Linked DNA regions of Homo sapiens: regions 1 and 3 are each linked to region 2. The links are contacts of gene promoters, found by promoter capture Hi-C in blood cells and fetal thymus (Javierre and others, 2016). All regions are on one chromosome and are shown on one strand. Each heading gives the region's core, a stretch centred on a gene start or on the middle of the fragment in contact. The rest is flanking DNA. Distances are from core to core; before and after follow the strand shown. Region 1 holds the start of MAP3K12 (mitogen-activated protein kinase kinase kinase 12). Region 2 holds the start of RPL41 (ribosomal protein L41). Region 3 holds the start of SP1 (Sp1 transcription factor).

What was found. The method cuts DNA at HindIII sites, captures the fragments that hold promoters and counts their contacts. A CHiCAGO score of 5 or more calls a contact.
Region 1: a contact is called between the fragment with the promoter of MAP3K12 here and a fragment that was not itself captured in region 2, in 2 of 17 cell types (fetal thymus and total B cells). The highest score is 8.4, in fetal thymus.
Region 3: the fragment with the promoter of SP1 here is called in contact with a fragment that was not itself captured in region 2 in 2 of 17 cell types (total B cells and total CD4 T cells); the score reaches 5.3 in total B cells.

Annotation. Positions count from the first base shown.
Region 1 is chr12:53,497,271-53,500,872 of GRCh38, reverse strand. MAP3K12 (mitogen-activated protein kinase kinase kinase 12) reads left to right here and starts at 1,415. Exons shown (of 14, transcript NM_001193511.2): 1 at 1,415-1,446. RefSeq lists a silencer at 1,049-1,298. The HindIII fragment of the contact is 6,087 bases long and covers 1-3,602 here.
Region 2 is chr12:56,115,197-56,118,728 of GRCh38, reverse strand. RPL41 (ribosomal protein L41) reads right to left here and starts at 2,096. Exons shown (of 3, transcript NM_001035267.2): 1 at 1,930-2,096; 2 at 1,518-1,540; 3 at 762-1,247. The coding sequence starts at 1,941. The coding sequence ends at 1,205. ZC3H10 (zinc finger CCCH-type containing 10) reads right to left here and starts at 463. Exons shown (of 3, transcript NM_032786.3): 1 at 411-463. RefSeq lists a silencer at 739-788 and an enhancer at 2,455-2,504. The HindIII fragment of the contact is 308 bases long and covers 1,602-1,909 here.
Region 3 is chr12:53,378,827-53,382,572 of GRCh38, reverse strand. It overlaps SP1 (Sp1 transcription factor), which reads right to left and starts at 2,397. Exons shown (of 6, transcript NM_138473.3): 1 at 2,275-2,397; 2 at 760-914; 3 at 1-463. The coding sequence starts at 2,281. RefSeq lists enhancers at 203-452, 865-1,623, 2,474-2,768, 2,601-2,900, 2,804-3,304 and a silencer at 1,731-2,360. The HindIII fragment of the contact is 463 bases long and covers 2,255-2,717 here.

The DNA.
Region 1 (3,602 bases), core at 166-2,665, 2.6 Mb after region 2:
TTGCGATTACTTCCCCTAGGTGCACTGAGATTGGTTACTTCGACTAAAGGGGCGGAGACAAGGAAAAGTCAGCCCCCCCCGACCCCGCCTCCTTGATGAAGGAAGGTTGTGATTGGTCCGGAGAGGCTGCCGTCGGATCCTGGCTCTTTGCGGTCTGGGAGGGTGGGCCTTACCTAGACGCCGGAGGGGACCGATCTCTGTTTCCGCAGGGCTCTGGAGCTGGTGCAGGTTTAAGTCCGTCTCAGACAGTCCCCTCAACCCACAGCCTAAGCCCCTTGCCCTTGGGCCTCCGTGACACAGAACTTGCTTCCTTTTCCTAGGTCGTCCTTCACCTCCCTTCAGGTGTTGCTTCTTTTGTGAAACCTTTTTAGAACCGCTCTAGTGAACCTCTCTTTAACTGGCGAGGAAACCTCTGGGGCCTGATAATCAGGCTGTAATGTGGGACGACAGGATTAGAAGGACTAGGCACCTTGGTGGTCTTGTTCCCTCTTCCATGAGTCTTGGGTCTCTCAGCTGAAGAGAGCAAAAGTGAATTTTGGCCGCCTAAGATTAATCAACTGATCTGGGTGTTGAGCAGACGCGCATTGTTTAGTCCTAGAGCCCCATTGCCTCCTCCCCCAAAGTTGCACAACCACTGGGCTGAGGGAAATCTTGTGACCTTGGAGAGAGAAAGGGAGAGACCACATTAAAAAAAAAAAAGGTTCTAATGAGTGTTCTGAGAAGGGGTCAAGAAAGATGTCTTACTCTGAGCCGGGGTTGGAGGTCCAGAGGAATCTTGAAATGATAATGAGGGGTCATCCAGGAACACTGGAGGAGGATGGGGCCTAGAGCCGAGTGAATTCCAAGTGGGTGAAATTGGAGTGAGTGGTGACAATCAAGGGAAGGAGAGCTGGCAAGATCGGTATGATAGGGGGAGCAATGCCAGAGCGCTAGGGATCCCAACTGAGGGGCTGCTCTCTCCGATGTAGAAAGGAGTCTATAAGACGGGTCATAGGGGGTTCCTGTGGAATCAGCCTGAGGCCTGAGGTGGGACCTCCATAGGACACCGCCAGCAGGGAGGCGCGGGGCCCAGGCGGGCCAGGTACGAGCCTGGAGCGCGCCGGATGGCAGCAGCGGGCTCCTTTAAGAGGCCGGCGGCTCCATCGCAGCATCCCCCGCTCAGGGCGTGTCCGTCCCGGGGGGCCAGGGGCGGGGGCCCTGGAAGGAGCGGGAGTTCAAGCCGAGCAGGGACGGGGCTAGGGGTCGGGGGGTGGGGGCAGAAAGCTGAAGCTGACACCCGTGCATCCGGACACCGCACGAGCATCGCCTGTGACAGCGCCCCGGGTCCGGTGGAGGGCAGCGGGGGGAGGAGGGAAGGAGGAGGAGAAGGAGGAGGAGGCGGGAGCAGCATCCGGAGCGGAGCTGCAGCAGCGCCGCCTTTTGTGCTGCGGCCGCGGAGCCCCCGAGGTGAGAGCCTGGCCGAGTTGTGGGGGGGTGGGGGGCAGGGATGGGTCTGGGTCCTGGGATCCGGGCGTGGAGGGAGGGTCGGGATGCAGATGTGGCCTGGTGCGGGGTGATGGCGTGGGGATGCTGAGGCTGTGGGGATGGAGGAACTGGGGACCTGGACCCGACGCCTGTGGGGCTGGGAAGGAAGGGAATGGAGCGGAGGGATGCCGCGGCCCAGCTTGGAGACGAAGGGCCTCCAGAGCTGGAAAGGACCGTATTGGGGTGGGGTGGAGGATGATTGGGGGACAGACTTAAAGGACAGAGGGCAAGAGAACATCTCCTCCCACTCATCCTCAGGAAGAGAGAGAGGGAAGGAGGAGGGAGAGTTTTGGCCCCCTCTAGGGAAGGAAAGGAAGGGCAAGGACTGATATACCCACCATCTCCACACACACACACACACACACACACACACACACACACACACACACACACACACACACACACACACACACACACACACACACACACACACACACACAGCAGGCTGGACCTGAAGATTAGTCAGAGAGCACCTGTTCCTGCATGCCCAGGCGTTGGTCCCCCTCCCCTTCAAGCTGTGATCCTCCTAATCCCCTCCAGCTGTGGCATTCACCTCCAGCTGTGGCATTCACCTCCATCCAGCTGTTGCATCCTCCCCTCCCCCATTCACGTGTGGGTTTCTCCCTCCTCTTTCTCTCCATCTCCTCTGGCTCCCCTAACCCATCTCCCCCAGTCAGGCCCTCCAAAAACCTCCTCCCTTTCCCACAAACACTCCTCAAACTCATTGGCTTAAAAATAAACAAGAGTTGAGACTTGCTGGTAACCAAGGCCTTGACTGAGAGGAGGGAAGAGTCAAGGCTCTGTAGACAGTGGGAGGAAACAGTGAGGTGTCCCTTAGAATTAAGGGAGGAGTCCTACCTTGTAGATGCTCATCTGCTGCCTTTTTCAGAGGAGCGTAGGTGAGTGGCCTCCAATCAGAAGGGAGTGCACATGAGGTCTCCTCACCCCACCCAGAGTCGTCTCAAGCCACAGTCAGTGCATCCCTCTAAACACATTTCCCTTGCAGTTCTCAAGGTGGACTCCATTGCTCTAGGAGCTCTGAGTTTCAGCCAGAGGGTCCTACCAAGCTAAGGCTAACAGAAAGGATTTAGGAAGGATAGGACTCAAGTGCCCCCTGAGCCTTCCTGTCCAGACACTGAAGTTTCTCTGAGCTTTAGGGCCCCACTCCCTCCTATCTCACACTTACAGGTGAAAAAAAGTGTGTCCCCTCAAGCGTATCATTCATCCACTCACTCCCATTGTCAACTGGGGTAATGTTAGGAAAACCCCAGCTCTCAACATGGAGACACCAGCTAAATATCCATCCCAGTTATGGACAGAGGAGGCAAGAAGTTAGACATGGCTCAGGATTTCCTAGGCTTCCTTATAGCTGAAGAGGGCAGAACCCTTCTAAAAACCAATTGCTTTTCCCCTCGTGGTGACACTGTGGTAGGATCAGGCTTTTCTAGGAAGAGGACTCTTGGTTCTACCACTCACAGCCCGGACTCTCGTAATGCACAGTCCTCCCTCTCCCCTGCCTGGATCTGGAGAGAAAGAAGGAATCAACCCTGTAAGAAGTCCTTGCTAGGGTGGACTGGAGATCACCCCTACATTCAGGTCCTCAGCCCTACACCAGTCAAGCCCTGGGACCCCCAGCTGCCATGCTTCTTCCAGTGAGGTGGAAATGTCTGCCCCTCACGCCAGCCACTCATGCATTCACTCACACTGTTGACTGAGGTGATGCTGGGAAGAAGGAGGATACTGTTGAGATGATGCCAGCAGGGGACATAGGGGCTTCATGAGGGCCTGGCCACAGAGACTGGTCTGTCTGGTTCATTGGCTCCCAGAAGGACTGGGGTCATATGTGTGCGTGGAGAAGGTGAGGAGACTGTGACAGTGACCAGATTCCAGAGGAGGCTAAAGATCATTCAGGATAGAGCCCTTGCCCTTTGGTTTCTTCATTCTTTGGTCTTTTTTTTCCCTCTTGTTTCTCCACCTCCCTTTCCACCCATACCCTCCCTACTGGCACTTGCTTTGAGAGAGAGAACAAGGGAAAGAAGGGAAGGGAATCACATTCATAAAAAACTTACAAGTGTGTG
Region 2 (3,532 bases), core at 506-3,005:
ATTAGACTTGAAGGCAGTGATTGTGACGCTTCCCAACACCCTAGAGTTTGCGAAAGAAGTCCTAGGAGTTTTCCCGCAGCAAGTCTTCTAGCTTGGCAGGTTCCGTGCAGTGCCGCCGGCGCTCAGCCGTGGGCTACGTGAATGGGACACTAAGGGCGCGCGAAGTGAAGCGGGGAGCTGGAGCTCCAGGTGTCATCAAGCTGAGGGGATGGGCAGGGTTGTGACGTCACGAAGCTGGCGTTTGCTCGCGATGCGGGGTCACTCAGAAAAGGGGCACTGCCCTGGGGTGTGAGGACGAGCCAGCTCGGTTCTGGGGGGCCTTCTGTGGCCTGGCCGAGCCCAGCCGCTGGGCCGGCCCCGACTCCTCCCCTCCGGGCGCGGCCTCCACCTAAGTCTCCCGCCTCCCTCACCTGCCGCCGCCGCCGTAGTTGCTGCTGCCGCCTGCCGGTCCTCTAGCTTCGACAAAGAGCCGCCTACCCGATCGCTCTTCCGCTTCCTGCGGAAGAAGTGACGCTCTAGCCAGCAGACCCGGAACCATACTCTATGGTGTATGAAGTACGCGTGCGACATGCCGCAGGGCGTTCCCAGCACGCTTTGCGTGTCACTATGGCAACCCAACCCAAAGGCACGACATGGTCTAAGCGGTAGTCGCCAAGGCAGCCCTCCTGGAAAGGGGCGGTACCAGCATTGGCCCCTAATAACCCGCGAAACCTAAAACCTGCCTCCAGAGACGTACCATATCCCATCCAACTCCAGCGAGATGCAAACCACACCACGTAACCCGGGCTGTTGCCTTTATAGCTTTGATACCCTCCATAGCACAGGTAGTGACAGGGCAAACTCTAATGACAGAAAACCCCCACCCGATGGAACCATAAAAAACATAATAGACAAGATGATTTAATTCTTCAGCTAAAACAGCGGAAGAGGTGATTTATTATATGGTTGTTACACTCGGCCACAAATAAACACAGAAATAGTCCAGAATGTCACAGGTCCAGGGCAGAGGACCAACATGGGCATTTTGTTTATGAGCAAGGTGGGTCTCAGAGGTGATCGGCGATCAGAGGGCGATGAAGTTCTAGATCCATTGAGACAAGCTCTAGACAGTAGCATGCAGTCCCACAACTTGTACCAGCATCCCCAGCGTCTGGCATTCCATGTTTCTGCTCCTGTGGCCTCCACGGTGCAACAAGCTAGCGGTTTACTTGGACCTCTGCCTCATCTTTCTTCTTTTGCGCTTCAGCCTGAAAAGCAGACACAGGAATGGAATACACCTCAAACCAGAGTTGCCTTTCCCTCCCACATTAAATCAAACGTCCACATAAAGAATGAGGTGGTAAAATGAACAAGCACTACGGTTCTATCGTTCTCTGTTCTGTTAAATCCTGGCTCCAGGGAGAAAACACTCAAACGTTTTTCTCCTAAAGATCTTTTAAGATTTCCAAACCAAATGTTTCTCCTAAGTTTTGTCCAAGGAACTTCCCTCCTCCTGGGCTGGCAAAGTCTCAACGTACCTGCGCATTCGCTTCTTCCTCCACTAGCAACCGATCACAAGCAGCAGATAATTAAAAAAAAAAAAAAAAAAAAGGGATGAAGCTTATTAGTAGGCTTAGCAAGGATATGAAATGCACTCTTTAGAACCGGACAGATTCTTAACCAAGAAGTATGAAAGATTGGTCGTAACAACTACATCAGTAACTTGGACACCCTCCCAACATAAGATCAGAATTCCACCCTTTTCTAAGCCCACCCTCTCTACCCATAGCACTTAACCGCTAGCTCTCTCACAAACTACCTTCTCTCTCCCACCAGCTCTTGGGCACCCTTGAAACCCAGTAGTTCAGGAGGTATGGCGGACTTGCCTTCGTCTCCTCGCTACTACTCGCCAACTCCTACCTCCCAAGCTTACTACCAGGAACCGCTCACCTTGGCTCTCATGGCGCAGAGGTTTCTACAGGGAAAGAGAGAAAGGCTACAGTTAGTTTGCTGTGATGATGCTAAGTGCCGAGGTCAGATGTCTATGGATTGTACACGGAATCCCAACGCAGGAACCAAAAAACACTCACCCAAAAAAATGGCGCTAAGGCCGAGAGAAAGGCGAAGTTCCGTCTACGGCTATTTAATGGAGCGCCGGGTGTCGTCACTTCCGCTTTCACGCCCTTTGCCCCCCCCAAGGGCGGGGCTACCCAATGGGCGTAACAGTGGTTTTCGGACCCTCTTGTAGAAGGGTAGGTTGAGTTAGTTCTTTCGGAAGACCGAGTATTTGGTTTTCGAGTTACCAGTTCCCCCCCAGATTTAGTATGAGGACGCTGTGTTATTTAAACGTCAGCACCTATTTCCAATATTGGACCTAGAGGTGCAGACGGGGAAAAAATAGTGACCGCCACCTTCCCTCGCATTGCTTCTTGGGAGTTGCAGTTCCCTGGAGAAGTCCTCCATTTTGCTATGGATAGGCGCGGACTGTACAGAAATTCTTGTTTTACTGGTTTGCCTTCTTTTCTTTCTTTCTTTCTTTCTTTCTTTCTTTCTTTCTTTCTTTCTTTCTTTCTTTCTTTCTTTTCTTTCTTTCTTTCTTTTTTTCTTTTTTGAGACAGGATCTCACTGTGTCACCCAGGCTGGAGTGCAGTGACGCGATCTCGGCTCACCGCAATTTCCGCCTCCTGAATACAAGCGATTCTCCCGCCTCAGCTTCCCGAGCAGCTGGGACAACAGGCGCGCGCCACTTGGCTAATTTTTGTATTTTTAGTAGAGACGAGGTTTCGCTGTGTTGCCCAGGCTGGTCTCGAACTCCTGAGCTCAAGCGATCCGCCCGCCTCGGCCTCTCAAAGTGCTGGGATTACAAGCATGAACCACCGCGCCCAGCCGGTTTGCCTTATTTTCTAAAATAAATTGCTGCAGGGTGATTCGATTCCGGAACCATCGAAGGTCCTAAGATTTCAGAACATAGGAAGATATAAAGTGGGGATTCGGGAAAGCTGCCATACTTCAAAAAATATTTTCTCACTGTTTAAGATAGAGCAATTATTTTTCCTAAATTTCAAGAATAAAATAGCTGATTATGGTCTTCCCCCACGATGCCCGAAGCAAAATATCACTAGAGATTCCTGGCTACAATGCATCATTTGTTCAGAAAATACGTCAGCGGGCTGGGCACGGTGGCTCATGCCTGTAATCCCAGCGCTTTGGGAGGCTGAGGTGGGGGAATCTCGAGCCCAGGAAGTCGAGGCTGCAGTGACCTATGCAGTGATTCTCTAGGGGTGAAGAGCGAACCAACGGACATAGGGAGAAAATTACCTAAATCTAGGGAAAGTATGACATTTGGTGTTAAGATAAAGAACTTCCCAGTTTGATTGTATGCTCAGGTGAGAAGCACTGGAAAACAACCAGATCCCCTAAGATTTGGCTACAGGAAACTTTTGAGTTAATGGGGGATGAAAAAGAACCCTTTCCCTATAGAGACTTCATCTTACAGTTTTAAAATACTGTAACATTTTGTATGTGATTGTTACAATCCCTCTTTTTTTGTGGT
Region 3 (3,746 bases), core at 1,148-3,647, 2.7 Mb after region 2:
CTGGTATGATCTGTATTTGACCAGAACCATCCTGCTGCACTTGGGCCCCAGTGGCAGCAAACTGCAGCTGTTGCCCATCAACGGTCTGGAACTGTGGGATTACTTGATACTGAATATTAGGCATCACTCCAGGTAGTCCTGTCAGAACTTGCTGGTTCTGTAAGTTGGGAGCGGCAGCCACAACATACTGCCCACCAGAGACTGTGCGATTCTTGGAAGACTCACTGCCATTGCTGCCATTGGTACTGCTGCCACTCTGTTCCTTTGAGGTAGGGGTAGCCCCAGAGGAGGAAGAGATGATCTGCCAGCCATTGGCACCCTGTGAAAGTTGTGTGGCTGTGAGGTCAAGCTCACCTGTTCCCCCTGACTGACTCGGGCCCTGGGAGTTGTTGCTGTTCTCATTGGGTGACTCAATTCTGCTGCAAGTTGCTGCCAGCAGAGCCAAAGGGGATGGCTGGGACTCCTGGCCGAAAATAAGGGAGAGGAAAGGAGTTAGTGACACCCAGCTGCCAGCCTAGGGGGCAGTATACAACAAATAAACAGCAACGTAGTGCAGACAAGGAGCAAAAAACAGAAACAAAAAGCTGACCTATCTGTATTGCTGAAACTCCTTTGTCTTTGGGGATCTCCATTCTCTTACTTCCTTATCTATAAAATGGTTTAGTCTCTCCCTAAAACGCTTTCTGTGAAGAGTAAGGCAATTATCTAAGAATATTTACATCTTCTCAACACCTTCCCCACTCTATGATTATCACTTACCTGCCCTCCTCCTCCAGTGCTGCTGCTACTGCCTGTGCTGCTACTTCGAGCCTGTGAAAAGGCACCACCACCATTACCATTGCCCCCATTATTGCCACCAACTCCTTTTTCAATTTTCACCACAGCTGTCATTTCATCCATGGAGTGATCTTGGTCTAAAATAATTAAAAAACAAACAACGTAAACTTGAGGGAAGAAAAGAAATGAAGTAGGAAGGATAAAAGGAGGCTATGATGAAATAGCAATGACTAACAGGAAGGCGAAAGCCACCAGTATAAAGAAAATGGATTGGAGGGCAGAGGGGAGCTGCAGGGCATGCAGGACATGAACTAGGTTCAATGTGCCAAAAGTGGGCCTTAATTCTCCCTTGTACAAAATTAAACTAAGAAAACATTCAAAAAGTGCTTTGGGGATAGGAAATGTGAAGGACGGTAGGCATGGTGAGAGTTTCTAAATAAGAAAAAGTATCCTAAGGGAAAAAAAGGAAAAGGACAGGTAAGGCATAAAACAACATGTGGGTGCATGGAAAGCTTGCTAAAATTAAGTTTAAAAGAGATGGAGAGGCCAGGCGCGGTGGTCACGCCTGTAATCCCATTACTTTGGGAGGCGGAGGCAGGCAGATCACCTGGGGTCGGGAGTTTTGAGACCAGCCTGACCAACATGGAGAAACCCTGTCTCTACTAAAAATACAAAATTAGCCGGGTGTGGTGGCGCATGCCTGTAATTCCAGCTACTCCCGGAGGCTGAGGCAGGAGAATCGCCTGAATCCGGGAGGCAGAGGTTGCAGTGAGCCGAGATCGCACCATTGCATTCCAGTCTGGGTAACAAGAGCGAAAACTCCGTCTCAAAAAAAAAAAAAAAAAAAAAGACAAACAAAAATCCAAGTGTGAAAAGTAACGAGAGGGGAAAAAGAAGTAAAAAGTGTGAGTAGAAAAACATTTGTGAATACTGCTAAGGAACTAAAGGGATCTACAGGTTAGTAGTCAGAAGGTTTCGGGGCGGAGGGCGGGCCCTGAGGGAAAGGGCGGTTTCGGGGTGAGGGGCGTGGAAAGGGCGGGACGGTGGGGGGCGGGGGGGAAGGGAAATCTACGGAAAGTGGGGGGAGGAGGGCCTTGGAGCAGGCGGCGACCAGAGGGCGGACCAGGCAGGCGGTTGGCCCGGGCGGGGCCTTCGCTGCTCGGGCCGCCCCCGCGGCTCCAGCCCCCGGCGGGAGGAGCCTCAGGCGGGCGGCCGAGTAGTGGGGGGTAAGGCCCGTCCCCCGTGGCCGGGGCGGGCAGGGGGCGGGCGAGGCCACGCTGCCCCCTCCCCCGGGGCGGGCGGCCCATCCCCCTCCTCCTCGGAGGCCCCGCCACTGCCCCGTCTCCCTCCCTTCCCTCCGCCCCGGGCGGGACCTAGGCCGCCGCCGCCGCCGCCTCCCGCCCGCCCCCGCTTCACGGCGGGGATCGCCCGGTCGGCCCTCGCGCGCGCCCCCTCACTCGCCTCCCACCCCTAAGCTTGGAGTGGACTCATCCTTACCGCTCATGGTGGCAGCTGAGGGACAAGCTCAAGGGGGTCCTGTCCGGGGGGGTTGGGGGGGGCCGGGAAAAACGCGGACGCTGACGAGGCAAGCGAACCCGGACCGGACAGGGAGGGGGGGGTAAGGAGGAGGGAGCAGCGCGCCACAAGCCCAACCTAGGCCCCGCCCCTTCTCTGCTGCCCCGCCCAATGAGGGAGGGGGAAAGGAGGGACTTGCAGAAGAAAGACGGTGGAATTATCCAATGGCAAGACTCGCTTGCTCTCCAAGGCGTGTGAGACTAAGTTGCGTGCCTGGTGTCCGCCTAAAAAGACCGCCCTCTCAGTGTTAAAAGCCAATGAAGGATGCAGGAAGTGAAGATGGGCGGGAGCTGGAGATGATTGGCTTGGAAGGAAACCAGTCAACCGGCAGGCGGGCTCCCTGAGACGTAGGGATAGGCAAAGCTTTGATAGGAATGACAGAACAACGGCCAACCAGAATCCGGGATATGCTTGGGCAAAATCCTAGTGGGCGGAGAGGTAAGAAGTAGGCAGGAATAGGAGAGGATGAAGCTGATTAAAACCAATCAGAAATCAGGCGGGCAGCCAGGAACGTTATGATTGGAGTTAGACTGAAAAGAGACAGGAAAGGACGCATATTGACGTGAACTAAAAGCCAATTAAACGCCGAATTAACTGAGGGCGGAAACTTGGAGTGGCAGAGGAGAATTGGCGGCTCCCTCAGTTATTCAATCCAATGAGGGGACGAAGTAGGCCTGGCACCGCCTCCTAGTTAGCCAATGGGCGTTACTGGAGCTGCCCATCATGAGGGAGGGAAGAGGGCTATGCCAAGAGGAGACCGTCGCCATATTGGCCCTCCTCAGGGGACGTTGTTACAGTCATTAGGTGGGACGCTTTAGCGGAGTCCTGCAGCTCAACAGGTGTCAGAGCCAAGGCATTCGGCGCGCAGTTCCGCATCAACACTAGGACTTGTTTGCGTCTTCATTTAACTGCCCCTATAAAGTACCTCTCAAATCTTACCCCCCTCCCGGGTGGTCGGACAGGCGGGCAGATGCCTCAATGTCGCTGCAAGCCCTGGGAATGCAGGCGGGACGAGATCTGGTGACAGCACTCACCGAATAAGTTAATACTGAGCTGACCAATATGCAGAGTCTCCGTGAGACTCCAGAAAACGCGATTTTATTAAGTTCCCCCAGACAAAGGCGCTAACCACTTAAACGACTGGTTAACTTTTCAAGCCTTGAGGCTAAAGTGCGGATAAGTCACTTCCATTTTTTCCCCCTTAATAGTAAATACCGCCTATGCATAAAGCAAGATAGCTGAGCTCCAGCTTTTTGCAATCACGAAGGTTAAGAAACTTTACTGCAGGCACCTGGATTTCTGGCCTCCTCTTTATCCGTGTTTTGGTGGAGCCGGCCTTAATAGCTTGTCAATGACACGATGAGGTCATGTCCTTCAGTATTTGTATCTTATAT